Regions from separate parts of the Homo sapiens genome. Here all the other regions are linked to region 1. Evidence: promoter capture Hi-C in human tissues and cell types (Jung and others, 2019). All regions are on one chromosome and are shown on one strand. The core of a region is centred on a gene start or on the middle of the fragment in contact, and the rest is flanking DNA. Distances in the headings are between cores, read along the strand shown.

Region 1 (4,757 bases), core at 655-3,154:
GGTTTATCAGGTCAAACCCAGAACACATCCTCAGGGCAAGCAATCTGAGGAATCTCAGTATGCAGGACCAGTTCAGCAAGAGGTTTAGGTTCAAATCAGGAGTGAGGGCAAAGTCTGGCTCATGGTGGAACCTTAGAAAAGTCCCCAGGCACCATGTGAGGCCATGTGCCATGAAGCCCAATTGCAGGACAGAAAAGGATGCCCTTCTACCCACACAGTTGGCCAGACCCAACCCTGCCAAGAACACGCCTTCTGGTTCCAAGATAACAAAAACAAGTCCTAGGTCACACCACCCACAGTGGTGAGAGCCCAAGGGCTGAAGTAGGCAAAGGCCAGGCTCCCATAACTGAGCCCATAGCCATTTTCCCCACTGGGCAGAGTAAAAGCTAAAGAAGCCTTGGGGCGAAGGTCAGGAAGCTGTAGAGGGGTATAGGAACAACAAAGACCCAAACAGCTCATCTGTACTACATATGTACTATTGCATCTACTTTAATAAATGCCTACCATAAATGTTGCAAGCTGACTTCATCAGCAAGTATGGACTGAGCAGGGTAAGGAGGCTGGGAATTGAGGTTCCAGCTCTACTATAGGCTTTCTGAGTGGCTGGGACACCTCCATTTCTCTCACTGGGCCTCATCCGCAAAATGAGACATGGGGTGAGATTAACACTACGCTCTTCCCTTAACAACCTCAGGCTCTCTGATACTGTCCACTGCAACACAGATCTCAAACACCGGTTTACCCCACACCCAAATATGGTGGTTACTTCTAGACTTTGACCATTTTGCTTGCCTAGTTCTCAGCTCTCCGGTAAGAAAAGACAGCCATGCCTGACTTCTGTTGTGAAAGGGAACACAGAGGGCATCGTCATGGGGATTCCGAAAATGGGTCCAGTTTTGGCCAGGGGGACCCCTGGAGCTTGCCCATTGGACTTGGAGCTAAAAGCATCTTAGCAACTAAGACAGCCGGTCTTTATAGCCTGGATGAAATTTGTATCTATTTCCCAGATGGACAAGAGCCTAGAAGATCCCAGCCTTGCCACTGGGTATGAGCACAGGACAGGGGGACGCTCAATGCTAAGGCTGCCAGAGAAAATACAGGACTTCCGGTTAAATTTGAATTTCAAATAAACAAGTAATTTTTAAAGTATAAGTATGTGCATACAATGTTTAGGACTTAACAATTATTCGTCGTTTATCTTAACTCAAATTTAACTGGACGTGGCCCGGCGCAGTGGCTCACGCCTGTAATCCCAGCACTTTGGAAGGCTGAGGCGGGCGCATCACCTGAGGTCAGGAGTTCGAGACCAGCCTGACCAACGTGGTGAAACCCCGTCTCTTCTAAAAATACAAAAATTAGCCGGGTGTGGTGGGCGCCCGTAATCCCAGCTACTCGGGAGACTGAGGCATGAGAATCATTTGAACAGGGGAGGCGGAGGTTGCAGTGAGCCGAGATCGCGCCACTGCACTCCAGCCTGGGTGACAGAGTGAGATTCTAACTCAAAAAAAATGTAACTGGACGCTTTGCATTTTTATTTGCTAAGTCCTCCAATTCTATCCAAGACACGGTCTCTCCGAAACTCCGGGAGGCTCCAGAGCAAAACAACGGAAATAGGAAGACTACCGGTCTTGACTCCTCCCCGCCATCAAAGAAGGCTGGTACCATTTCCGGCTTTCCCTAGACAGTAGGGGGCCGGAAGTGACGTCATCCTAAGGTAGGGCCTTAGCGAGGGAAATGGCTGCCGCGTAATGCCCGGTGATGCGAGAAAGAAGGGCCTGCTGCCACCAGGACCCGTCATCGCCCAGCCCAGGGACCGCTTCTGAAGGCCATGCGAGCCCTGGCGGCGCAGACTTACCAGCCCACAGCTCCGGCCGCGGTGCCCAGCGCTGGAGAACGGAAGTACTAGGGGGTGGGCGGAGCGGAAGCCGGAAGTGTGGGTGGGTGGAGCGGCGCAGGCGGGTGCGAGCTCTGGCTGAAGCCGGTGTCCGGGAGGGGAGAGTTTAGCATATTGGCTCTTTGCTGGCCACTGACAGACCTGGAAGGAGTCACCTTCAGTCCTCATTTTTTAAATCTCTACATTGAGGGTAATAATCCCCGCCTCACCGATTGCCGATTTTTTTTTTGAGACGGGGTCTCATTCTGTCGCCCAGACTGGAGTGCAGAGTCGCGGTTTCGGCCCAATGCAACCTCCGCCTCCCGGATTCAAGCGATTCTCATGCCTCAGCCTCCCGAGTAGCTGGGATTACAGGCATGTGCCACCACTCCGGGCTAATTTTTGTATTTTTTAGTAGAGACGGGCTTTCGCCATGTTGCCCAGGCTGGTCTCGAACGCCTAACCTCAAGCGATCCACCCACCTCAGCCTCCGAAAGTGATGGGATTACAGACTTCAGCCGCCGCACCCGGCCTCTCCCTTCCTTTATCCTGTACGGTCAGTCAGCAGATGCACCCTGAGTGTCAGGCACTGACTGGGCTGAGCAAACGAACTGAGAATCACTACTTCCCCACAACTCACCCCTTCTGGAGCCAGATTAAGTAATTCCCGCTCCTCTCCATGGCTTTTATTCCACAACTTATTATTGTTCTTCCCTCTCCCACCATGGGCCACCAAATACAGCTCTGGCTTAGCAAGAGTTCCATTCTGCGATCCTCAAGCACATAAGCGGCATGTAAACGCTAATGACTCTGGGCCTACCTCGCTGTCCCTACTCTCATCCGGGGCCTACCCTGTGTTGGCTGGATGCCTTCCCACATTCATAAGATGAGTCCTGATCAGACTCCAAAAATACAAAACAGTTCACTGTTTTTACTGATGTTTTCTTAGGGAGATAGAGGAGAGAGTTGCATCACAAATCACACACTTGATTTCCTAACAATTTTATTGAAACATGTTTCTTGGCAGGGCGCAGTGTTTCACGCCTGTAATCCCAACATTGGGGAGGCCAAGGTGGGCGGATCGCTTGAGCCTAGGAATGCGAGACCAGCCTGGGAACATGGCGAAACTTATCTCTACCAAAAAAAAAAGAGCCAGGTGTGGTGGCATGCTCCTGTAGTCCCAGCTACTCAGGAGGCTGAGATGGGAGGATCACCTGAGCCTGGGAGGTAGAGGCTGCAGTGAACCTTGATCACGCCACTGCACTCCAACCTGGGCCCCTGTCTCAAAAAAAAACCAACAAACAAAAACACATTTCTTTCTCTTGGTTTTGAGGTGGAGTCTTGCTCTGTCACCCAGGCTGGACTGCAATGGCACAGTCTCAGCTCACGGCCACTGCACTGCAGCCTGGGCACGATGTCGGCTCACTGCAACCTCCGCCTCCCAGGTTCAAGCAATTCTCCTGCCTCAGCCTCCCGAATAGCTGGGACTACAGGCGCCCGCCACCACGTCCAGCTAATTTTTGTATTTTTAGTAGAGACAGAGTTTCACCATGTTGGCCAGGCTGGTCTCGAACTCCTGACCTTGTGATCCACCGCCCTTGGCCTCCCAAAGTGCAGGGATTACAGGCGTATAAACAATTACAGGCGCCCGGCCTATATAAACAACCTTCATCTTTCCCCATGCTGGAGAACACTAATTGCCACTGCTTGGTGTCTGTGTTTCCCTGGATGGCTGCCCTCACACTTTATGCTTGAATAAATTCTTTTAACTGGATATCGAACCTTTTGATGATTTTTAGGTTGACATTAGAAATGTGTTTTTGGGACAGGTGCAGTGGCTCATGCCTGCAATCCCAGTACTTTGGGAGGCTGAGGCAGGTGGGATCATTTGAGGTCAGGAGTTCGAGACTGGCCTAACCAATATGGTGAAACCCCATCTCTACTAAAAAATACAAAAATTAGCTGGGCATGGGCCGGGCACAGTGGCTCACACCTGTAATCCTAGCACTTTGGGAGGCTGAGGCAGGTGGATCACCTGAGGTCAGGAGTTCAAGACCAGCCTGGCCAACATGGCGAAACCCCGTCTCTACTAAAAATACAAAAATTAGCTAGGCATGGTGGTGTGTGCCTGTAATCCCAGCTACTGGTGGGGCTGAGGCAGGAGGATTGCTTGAACCTGGGAGGTTGCAGTGAACCGAGATTGCGTGACTGCCCTCCAGCCTGGGTGACAAAGCGAGACTCCGTCTCAAAAAAAAAAAAAAAAAAGATTGTTTATATAGGCAAAAACAGGAGTGCTGACCAGAATTACAACATTTTCCAAAAAAAGGCTAACATAAATACAAGATTTGGTTGGCTACTATTGATTATACTGGAAGGAGTTTGCTTAACATTCTATTGTAAAGAGACAACAATCACAAGGGTCTCTATCTCCCACATCATCTAGTCTAAGTCTGAATGAAGAATAGGGAGCCTGGTTAATGTATAACATTTCAATACAAAGATCAGGAAGCAGCAGTCATGCATCAGAGAAGAAAAAAAAAAAGCAATGCCTGCTCAGTTTCCAGGGCTTCACTTTTCTCCTTCACATTATAAATTGGGAATGTCCTAAAATTTTATTTTCTTTTCACACCCCCTACCTGCTCCCTTTGGCAGTTGCTACATCTCTCCTTAGGTCTCCAAACCATGCTGTGCTCTTGTCATGAACCTTTCCCTTCCTCTGGCCCCCACTTCCAGCTCTCTCCCTGGATTTTTCTTTTTCTTATATATACATATATTTTTATTTGAGACAGGATCTCACTCTGTCACCCAGGTTGGAGTTCAGTGCCATCATCTTGGATTATTGCAACCTCCACCTCCGAGGCTCAAGTGATCCTCCCACTTCAGT
Region 2 (4,757 bases), core at 1,187-3,686, 370 kb before region 1:
TAGCACTTAGCCCTATTGTGATCATTTACTTTTCTGTCTGCCTTCTTTTCTACTCCCTGAATTTCTTGAGGACAGTGACTGTGCTGTAATTTACCTTTGTATTACTGTCTATAACTGGAACCCGATCCGAAGGATTGGATGACTTTGGATTACTTTGTACCCCATGCTGGGTGGTCATAGATATGCAAGATGCTTGTTGACTGATGAGTAGCATGCAGCTTTCCTCATCAGTCATTGGCAAGACTATAGTTATTTAAAGGTGTGTCTTGACTAGCTATAGGATAGTTACAACATTAGAAATAAAGCAACTGACCACTGCTGTCCTATGTGTGAATCTTACTAGAAAGATGTAATTATTAATATTGGTCATATGACTTAAAACTTTAAGAAAAGGAGAAAACAGTATGATGATTCTCTAGAGAATTAAACATGGAATTACCATATGATCCAGCAGTTCCACTTTAGATATATACTCCAAAGAAAGTGAAAGCAGGGTATTGAAGAGATATTTGTATACCCATATTCATAGCAGCATTATTCACAATAGCTAAAAATGGAAGCAACTCAGGTGTCCATCAGTGAATGAATGTATATGTGACATATACATACAGTGGCATATTATTTGGCGTTAAAAAGGAAGGAAATTCTGAAACATCCTACATGGATGAACTCTAAAGACATTATTTTAAGCAAAATGAGCCAGTCACAAAAGGACAAATACTGTATGATTTCTTATATGAGGTACCTAGAATACTCAAAATCTTAGAGACATAAAGTTAGAATGGTGGTTGCCAGGGGCTGGAGGGAATGGGGAGTTGTTTAATATGTACAGAGTTTCCATTTTGCAAGATTAAAAAGTTCTGGAGGTGGATGTCAGTGATAGTTGCACAGCAGTGTGAGTGTACCTCATGCCACAGAACTGTACACTTAAAAATGGCAAATTTCATGTTACTACATGAAATTTATTTTATTACAGTAAAAAAAATTATAAAAGAAGTACAGGATAGGTGTAGTGACCCACACCTGTAATCCCAGAGCTTTGAGAGGCCAACATAGCTGAGACTCTGTCTCTACAAAAAAAATTTTTTTAATTAGCTAGTCATGGTGGTGTGCACCTGTAGTCACAGCTGTTTGGTGGGGCTGAGTTTGGAGGATCACTTGAGCCTAGGAGTTCAAGGCCGCAGTGAGCTGTGATCATGCCACTTCACTCCAACCTAGGCAACAGAAAGAGACCCCGTCTCTTTTTCTCTCTCTCGCTCTCTGTCAACTCTCATTCACACATGCACACATACACACAAAATAGAAGTACTGTCTTCGCTCAAGATTTATTCTTACCCTGCAGGAGATAATCAGTGATGGTCAAATCAACAACAGTGATATGGGGCAATGAAACATCAATAATTAGTTCCCCCCATTCCCCCTTCAAGGTCACCTTGAAGGAGCTGGTTGGGAAAAGCAGGTTTCTATTGGTCTCTCAGGGTGTGACAGTTTGAAAGACAACAAGGATTGACAGCTGAAGGGGCAGGACAGTTTTCACCTTTCCTTAGTAAGTCCGTCCCAAGCAAGCTGGCTGCATGGGAGAGATAGATTGGGAATTTGTGGGATTGGATGACTTTGAATTACTTTGTACTCCATGCTGGGTGGCCTTGCCATAATTTGTCCTCTGAACTTTCTCTCAGAAGTAGAACTGGTGAAGAGAAGGGGCAGCAATGGAGATTCATCCAAGTAAAGGAAGGAGTAGGGTTAAGAAAGTAGTGGTAAGCTTAGGGGACAGATGAGATAAAACAACACTGAGATAATCTGTTCAGCCCAGTAACTGAGTGAAGGCTGTGGCTTTCTGCTTTTGTTGTTGCTGCGTGGGCTTCAGTAGGGTTTGAACAGGTGGGAAGAGTTGGGAGAGCACAATCTGACTTCCCCTGAACCTCTCCCATCTGATAAGACCAACTTTTGATATTTGGGCAACTTCAGTTATTTCCTCCAAGGAAGAAAATCTGTAGGAAAGCCTGAGTGCAGTGAGTGATTCTAGGTTGTTGTGAAAGCTTCAAGGACATTCCTCAACATGTTCAATTTCTTGGGATGACCTAGTATTTGATAAATCAGAAGTTGCTAATAATTTTGCTTCATTTCTTTTCTTTTTTCAAGACAGTCTTGCTCTGTCACCCAGGCTGGAGTGCAGTGGCGTGATCTCAGCCCACTGCAACCTCTGCCTCCCAGGTTCAAGCGATTCTCCTGCCTCAGCCTCCTGAGTAGCTGGAATTACAGGCACCCGCCACCACACCCAGCTAATTTTTGTATTTTTAGTAGAGACGGGGTTTCACCATATTGGCCAGGCTGGTCTTGAACTCCTGACCTCGTGATCTGCCCGTCTCGGCCTCCCGAAGTGCAGGGATTACAGGCATGAGCCACCATGCCTGACCAGAATTTTGCTTCATTTCTTTCTTTCTTTTTTTTTTTTTTGAGACAGAATTCTGCTCTTCTTGCCCAGGCTGGAGTGCAATGGAGCAATCTCAGCTCACTGCAACCTCCACCTCCCAGGTTCAAGCGATTCTCCTGCCTCAGCCTCCCAAGTAGCTGGGATTACATGCATGCACCAACATACCAGGCTAATTTTGAATTTTTAGTAGAGATGGGGTTTCACCATGTTGGCCAGGCTAGTCTCGAACTCCTGACTTCAGGTGATCCACCCACCTCAGCCTCCCAAAGTGCTGGGATTACAGGCGCGAGCCACCATGCCCAGCCGTGCTTCATTTCTTTAACAAAGTTTCATTCAAAAGGTATTTTGTTTTGAAAAAACTTACTTTGACTGAAATAAGCAGAAGCATCAAGTTAAACATGAAGCTAACAAATTTTGCAACCTGACTTCTTACAGATCCTTATGAAAGTTTATGTGAATATTATATAATAACGTTATTTAGATTGCAAAATTAAAAGAGCTTGTAACAAACTCCTAAAGAGCATTTCTTCTACTTTATTTCTAGGCATAGATATCTTGGGACCTTAAATGAAAAATTGTATAATTCTGTGAATTTAGAATTTTTGTTTGTTTTTTGAGACGGAATCTTGCTCTGTTGCACAGGCTGGAGTACAATGGCGTGATCTCGGCTCACTGCAACCTCCATCTCCTGCGCTCAAGTGATTGCCCTGCCTTAGCCTCCTGAGTAGCTGGGATTACAGGCGCACACCACCATGCCTGGCTAATTTTTGTATTTTTAATGGAGACAGGGTTTCGCTATGTTGGCCAGGTTGGTCTTGAACTTCTGACCTCAAGTGATCCAGCTGCCTCAGCATCCCGAAGTGCTGGGATTACAGGTGTGAGCCACCGCGCCTTGCCGAATTTAGATTATTTATTTTTTTTTTGAGATGGAGTCTTGCTGTGCCGCCCAGGCTGGAGTGCAGTGGCATGATCTCGGCTCGCTGCAACCTCTGCCTCTTGGGTTCAAGCGATTCTCCTCCCTCAGCCTCCAGAGTAGCTGGGACTATAGTTGTATGCCACCATGCCCAGCCAATTTTTTTTCTATTTTTAGTAGAGACAGGGTTTCACCACGTTAGCCAGGATGGTCTCAATCTCCTGACCTCGTGAACCACCCGCCTCGGCCTCCCAAAGTTCTGGGATTACAGGTGTGAGCCACCGTGCCCTGCCTAGAATTTTTTTTTTTTTTTTTGAGACGAAGTCTCTTTCTTGTCCCCCAGGCTGGAGTATAATGGCACGATCTCAGCTCACTGCAATCTCTGCCTCCCAGGTTCAAGCGATCCTCTTGCCTCAGCCTCCTGAGTAGCTGGGATTACAGGTGCCTGCCACCACGCCCGGCTAATTTTTGTATTTTTAGTAGAGATGGGGTTTCACCATGTTGGCCAGGCTGGTCTTGAACTCCTGACCTCAGGTGATCCACCTGCCTCGGCCTCCCAAAGTGCTGGGATTGCAGGCGTGAGCTACCGCACCCGGCCCCAGCCTAGAATTTTTTAAAACATTAAATTTTATGCTAGTTGCATAATAACACTCAAAATACCAAGTTTTAACTCCTAAGTCATGCTGTTGGATAGATCATGAAGCTTCTTAAGATTAAATTCTTTATGGTTCTGATATAATAAATGTGCTGTACAGCCATGTCTTTAGTCTTGAATCTCACAAAGCTGCTTCACTGGTTGTTTGAACAACAGATTGTCAATGTACTTCCTTCTCTTTTCATTAGCTGAATAGTTTAACTTATTGAGCATGCCTGGTTTTTTGTCTTCCAGCAATATCCAGATTATTATGCAATAATTAAGGAGCCTATAGATCTCAAGACCATTGCCCAGAGGATACAGGTATGAAGATGACCATAAGTAAATGATTGTGGTTTAGAGCAGATTGGCCTATGATCTTTCCTAGAAGCTTTTAGAAAACAGAGAAGCTAGTTGTCTCTGTAAGGGGTTATTAGCAAATCATGTAAATAAATTAAAATAGTGTTACTGATTGTAGCTTTGGATTGCATCTTAGGACAAAAATTAAAACACATTGGTTACCGACATTTCTGATTATAAAAGATACATTTGTGACAAAAGATTTATTTCATTTTTAATTTTTAAATTTTTTATTTTTGTGGGTGCATAGCAGGTGTATGTATTTATGGGGTACATGAAATTTTGATACTGGCATACAGTGCATAATAATCACATCAGGGTAGATGGGGTAACCTGTTGTTTATTTTTATCTGCTTCCAAATAGCTTTAGGATACGTTAGAATAAAAGCTACCCACAACGGATGTTAGAGTGGAAG
Region 3 (4,757 bases), core at 1,310-3,809, 340 kb after region 1:
TTTTGTATTTTTTTTTAGTAGAGATGGGGTTTCACCGTGTTAGCCAGGATGGTCTTGATCTCCTGATCTCATGATCCACCCGCCTCAGCCTCCCAAAGTGCTGGGATTACAGGCATGAGCCACCATGCCCGGCCTTCTTTTTTTTTTTTTTTTTGGGACGGGGTCTCGCTCTGTCGCCCAGGCTGGAGTGCAGTGGCACGATCTCAGCTCACTGCAAGCTCCACCTCCCGGGTTCATGCCATTCTCCTGCCTCAGCGTCCCGAGTAGTTGGCACTACAGGTGCCCGCCACCACGCTCGGCTAATTTTTTTTTTTTTTTTTGTATTTTTAGTAGAGACGGGGTTTCATCGTGTTAGCCAGGATGGTCTCGATCTCCTGACATCGTGATCCGCCCGCCTCGGCCTCCCAAAGTGCTGGGATTACAGGCATGAGCCATCGCGCCCAGCTTGCGACCATCTTTTCTAAAATTGTTCCACCTTCCCATCACTCAAATCCTTTTATCCTGCTTTATTTTTCTTCCCGGCACTTTCCCTACCTGCTGTGGTATTTCATATTTATGCATACATTTGCTTAGAGCCTGCTTTACTAGAATGTAAGCTCCATGACAGCAGGGACCTCATCTGAGCCTCACTTGTGCCTGTGGCCCTAGCACCCCTCACAGACACACGGTCAGCATTGCTGCAGATCTAGATGGTGAAGACAGGACATGGACCTCCTGGTTTAACTGATTTTGTGCTGGAATTCAAAGGGCTCCAGCGCAGTTCTCCATTATTCAGATGAGAAAAGTAGAGTGGAGAAATGGGTCCCAGGTCACACAGCTGAGTTTTGCTTCCTAGAGCTCTGTCCACACAGCTGTCCCTTCCTGTCCTTGGCTACAACTTGAATTTGGGCATTTGCCTCTAGGAGGTGAAGATGGATTTTTGAAGTTTTGGTCCTTACCCAGGCAGCCCTGTAGGCCTGGGGCAGCCCCTGAGTTACCAGAGCCTGGAGAGAGCTCGGTGGGGCCAAGTGGGAACAGCAAATGAGAAAAGTGGACTGGGGAACGCGATAGGGAGGGGTGGGGACTGTGGTGGGTTGCAGAGTTCATGCTCCCTTCGACATCATTAATATAAATAAAAAATTAAAACACTTCCTTAGCATGTGTATGTGTGTATGTGTATTGCAAAATTTCCAAAAAACAAAACAAAATAAAAAAAAAAAACACAGGAAGGATATGCCAGAAACTAATGAAACTGGCTCCCTCCAGCAGGTGAGTAGGAATGGAGTGTGGGGGATAGAAGGACTCTTCTGAGCACAGCTTGCATAGAGTGGACCTTTTGGAACTATGTTAATGTTCTACATATTGAAAACAATAAAGTAACAAAGAAGAATGTAGACAGAAATGACTGAGCCTACCTGTATTTCAGACGAATAAAATAACCACACTGAAGAGAAAGAACCAATCCAAGTAACATCTGAACGTGTATTCAAACTGTTACTTTGACCATGGACCCTCAATCTAACGACAAAAAAAAAAAATACTGAGTAAGATCAGATACATCTTGAGCTCTATTTAGAATGTTTGTTTTTCACAGGGTATGGGTATGGCAATTCTGAAACTCCTTTTTGTGCAGGATTGAGCAAATAAGTAGATATATTGATGTTGATAGAAACCCAGGTTCTTACTGTTTAAGAATCGAGGAAATAGGGAATTGGGGAAGAATGGAAGAACTCTGTGGTGTTTGACTGGAACTGGAGAAATAGATATAGAGAGATGTGTTTGCTATTTATTCACACATACATATTCTGTCTCCCCCCTTTTTTTTCCTTTTTTATTTTTTTAGAGACAGGGTCTCAGTCTGTCATCCAGGCTGGAATGTAGTGTTGCAATCATAACTCACTGCAGCCTTGAACTCTTGGGCTCAAGAGATCCTCCGGCTTTGACCTCCCAAAGTGCTGGGATTACAGGTGAGAGCTCCTGCGCCCAGCCACATAGACACATTCCTTAGCTCTCTTTGCTGGAAGGACTTAAAAGCAATGACACCTCAGTACCAAGGAGCACATCTATTGCCCAGATCTTGGATTCTAAACATTTCCTGCTCCAGGAAACCAGGGCTCCTTGGAGAAATGGCTGATTCCCGGTTCGTACGAGATGAACCTGGAACATCTTGTGATGCCAGAGAGAAAGGATGTGCTCAAAAAATGATCGGGACACGGAAGGGACCTTCTGCTGGCCAAATCTGGGACAATTTGAGGATCAAAATAATTGAGGACAGTAATGGATTATAACTCACTGAATAAAATAAAAATCCATGAGTCTACACTGATAATAAAGACAGAAACTAATACAGATAAAAGAAATGATGGAGTTAGATAACTACCATTTGCAACTATCTTAGCAAAAATTGATTCAGGTAGTTGATTTCAGTTAAGTTATCATCGATGGATAAAGCTAGTGGGTGAAAGGTGATGAGGAAAGGGACATTTACACCCAACAATATTTCCCCACAGATTATTGATTAATTACAAAGGGGAGAAATGGTAGCTTCACCGTGGAGAAACATGGCGGACATCACCTTAATGGATGATTAAAATTAATTAACATCACCAAGAATGGGCCATGCCCCTACAGATGGAATTCCCTAGGGCATATCATTTATGTCACATTCCTGCCCATGCAATACCTAAATCTAATCACGACAAAGCATCAGAGAAACCTAAACTGATAGACATTCTATAAAACAACTGGCCTGTATTCTTCAAGAGTGTCAAGAATGTCAAAGTTATAAAATAAAAAAAAGGCTGAGGAGTGTTTTCAGATTAAAGGAGACTAAAGAGACACAACAACTAAATGCAATGTGCAACCCTAGCCTGGATGTTGGCCTCCTCCAGCAATGGCACCCTTTGTCTGTGGATAGGATGACCTGCCTGGTGATCACTGGCATTCCTGCCTGAACAGCCTCCTTTCATGATTGCAGAGCTGTGCCCCTCTGACATATGCTCAGCTTGTTTGTAACATTTAGATTAAGACACAAAGGAGGCTGGGTGCAGTGGCTCACACCTGTAATCCCAGCACTTTGGGAGGCAGAGGAAGGAGGATCACCTGAGCCCTGGAGTTTGAGACCAAACTGGGCAACATGGCAAAACTCTGTCTCTACAAAAAACACAAAAATTAGCCAAGTGTGGTGTCATGTACCTGTAGTCCCAGCTACTCTGGAGGCTGAGGTGGGAGGATCACCTGAGCCTGGGAAGGCTGAGGCTGCAGTGAGCAGTGGTTGTACCACTCCCCTCTAGCCTGGGTGACAGGGTGAGACCCTGCCTCAAAAAAAAAAAAAAAAAAAAAGACACAAAGGGATGTTTGGTGCCAAGACATGAAGAATGCTTGATTCACCTGGCAATGTCTGGGATAAAGGACAGAATCACCAGGTGGGTCCCCAGATGACAAATAGTTCTGAGTAGACAGTGGGGGTCCCCCTTGAAGGCTCAATTAGAGGAAGCAGGTTGTTGCAGTGATGGACCAGGAGGGGCAAGGAGTATGTGCATGATCCACATCAACCCATGTGAGCGCTCGCTCCCTGGAGTGTGGCTGGAGGCCCAGGCCCAGCACAGTTGTGGCACAGACAGGCAGAGGCTGGGGCAAGAGAATACCATGTTTAGTAAAGCTGCTTGCACATGCCTGCAGTTTAGCCTACCTTGGTGACCACATGGCTCCAACATGCAGTCCAGGCCAGGATGGACGGCCTGGGTGGATGTGGGATCCAAGCCACTCTCAGCTGTGCCCCTTGAGTAAGCTGCTGCATCTGTGTCCCTGTAATACGCCCGTACCACACCCATCACTTTAGGAGGCAAGACTCTGGGGCCACAGACACATCAAGGCTAACAGGGATTGGAGGGAAGGGGGATCGATGTCTGGGACACAGGGGAGCCTGGCAAGAAGGGGTGATATGGATCCAGAAACCCCACTACTGGGTATACATCAAAGGGAAATGAAATCAGTATGTTCAAGAGACGTCTGCTTTCCCAGTTCACTGCAGCACTGTTCACAATAGCCAAGATATGGAAGCAGCTTGGTGTCCACTGATAGATGAACGGATAGAGGAAATGTGGTGCATATACATAACAGAGTACCATTCAGCCTTAAAAAAGGAGGAAATCTTGTCATTTATGAAAACATGGGTGAACCCGGTGCACATTATGCTGAGTGAAATAAGCCAGGCACAGAAAGACAAACACTGCATGATCTCACTTACATGTGGAACCTATAAAAGCTGCCCTTATACAAGTAAAGAGTCAAATGCTGGTTACCATGGGCTGGGAGGAGAGGGACTGGGCAGATGTGTCAAAGAATACAAAATTTCAGTTAGGAGGCATAAGTTCAGGGATCTTGTACAGCATGGTGACTATAGTTAACAACAACGTATTGTATTCTTGAAAAAAAGGAGTGATATAGGGGTACCAGAGATGGGCAGGATGATTGAAGATCACAGTCCAGCCTTGCAGGACCCCGGGGGACAGGGCGGGCACTCAGAGGTGGACCTCCAGCAGGTAGCGCAGGCGACACTGGCTCTCCTGGTAGATGAGGTACTCGCTCTGGGAGAATGTGGAGCTGCTGAACTCTGGGCAGGGCACAGGCTGGCCCTGGGGCACCACCACTTGCTGGCCATCCAGCTCCAACTCAGTGTCCTGGGTCGGATCTGCAGGGCACAGCAAGGGCCAGGGTGGCCCAGGGGTCACTGGTCCCAGGCCTTACGAGTAAGTCCTGCCCCCTATGCTCTCCAT

What was found. The method cuts DNA at HindIII sites, captures the fragments that hold promoters and counts their contacts. A contact is called where the count stands out against the background at its distance.
Region 2: a contact is called between a fragment that was not itself captured here and the fragment with the promoter of GLYCTK in region 1, in 2 of the 25 tissues and cell types used here (aorta and heart right ventricle).
Region 3: a fragment that was not itself captured here is called in contact with the fragment with the promoter of GLYCTK in region 1 in 1 of the 25 tissues and cell types used here (hippocampus).

Annotation. Positions count from the first base shown.
Region 1 is chr3:52,284,975-52,289,731 of GRCh38, reverse strand. It overlaps GLYCTK (glycerate kinase), which reads right to left and starts at 1,904. Exons shown (of 5, transcript NM_145262.4): 1 at 1,856-1,904. GLYCTK-AS1 (GLYCTK antisense RNA 1) reads left to right here. Exons shown (of 1, transcript NR_046719.1): 1 at 1-1,152. LOC107986086 (a long non-coding RNA gene) reads left to right here and starts at 1,712. Exons shown (of 3, transcript XR_001740699.2): 1 at 1,712-1,899. RefSeq lists enhancers at 2,137-2,246, 1,073-2,272, 1,578-2,319. The HindIII fragment of the contact is 16,985 bases long and covers 1-4,757 here.
Region 2 is chr3:52,651,290-52,656,046 of GRCh38, reverse strand. PBRM1 (polybromo 1) reads left to right here. Exons shown (of 32, transcript NM_001405607.1): 7 at 4,237-4,305. Among named protein-coding and RNA genes, the nearest start is that of PBRM1, 32 kb to the left of the region's middle. The HindIII fragment of the contact is 3,551 bases long and covers 661-4,211 here.
Region 3 is chr3:51,948,226-51,952,982 of GRCh38, reverse strand. PARP3 (poly(ADP-ribose) polymerase family member 3) reads right to left here. Exons shown (of 11, transcript NM_001003931.4): 11 at 4,116-4,672. The coding sequence ends at 4,503. Among named protein-coding and RNA genes, the nearest start is that of GPR62, 4.8 kb to the left of the region's middle. The HindIII fragment of the contact is 8,892 bases long and covers 1-4,757 here.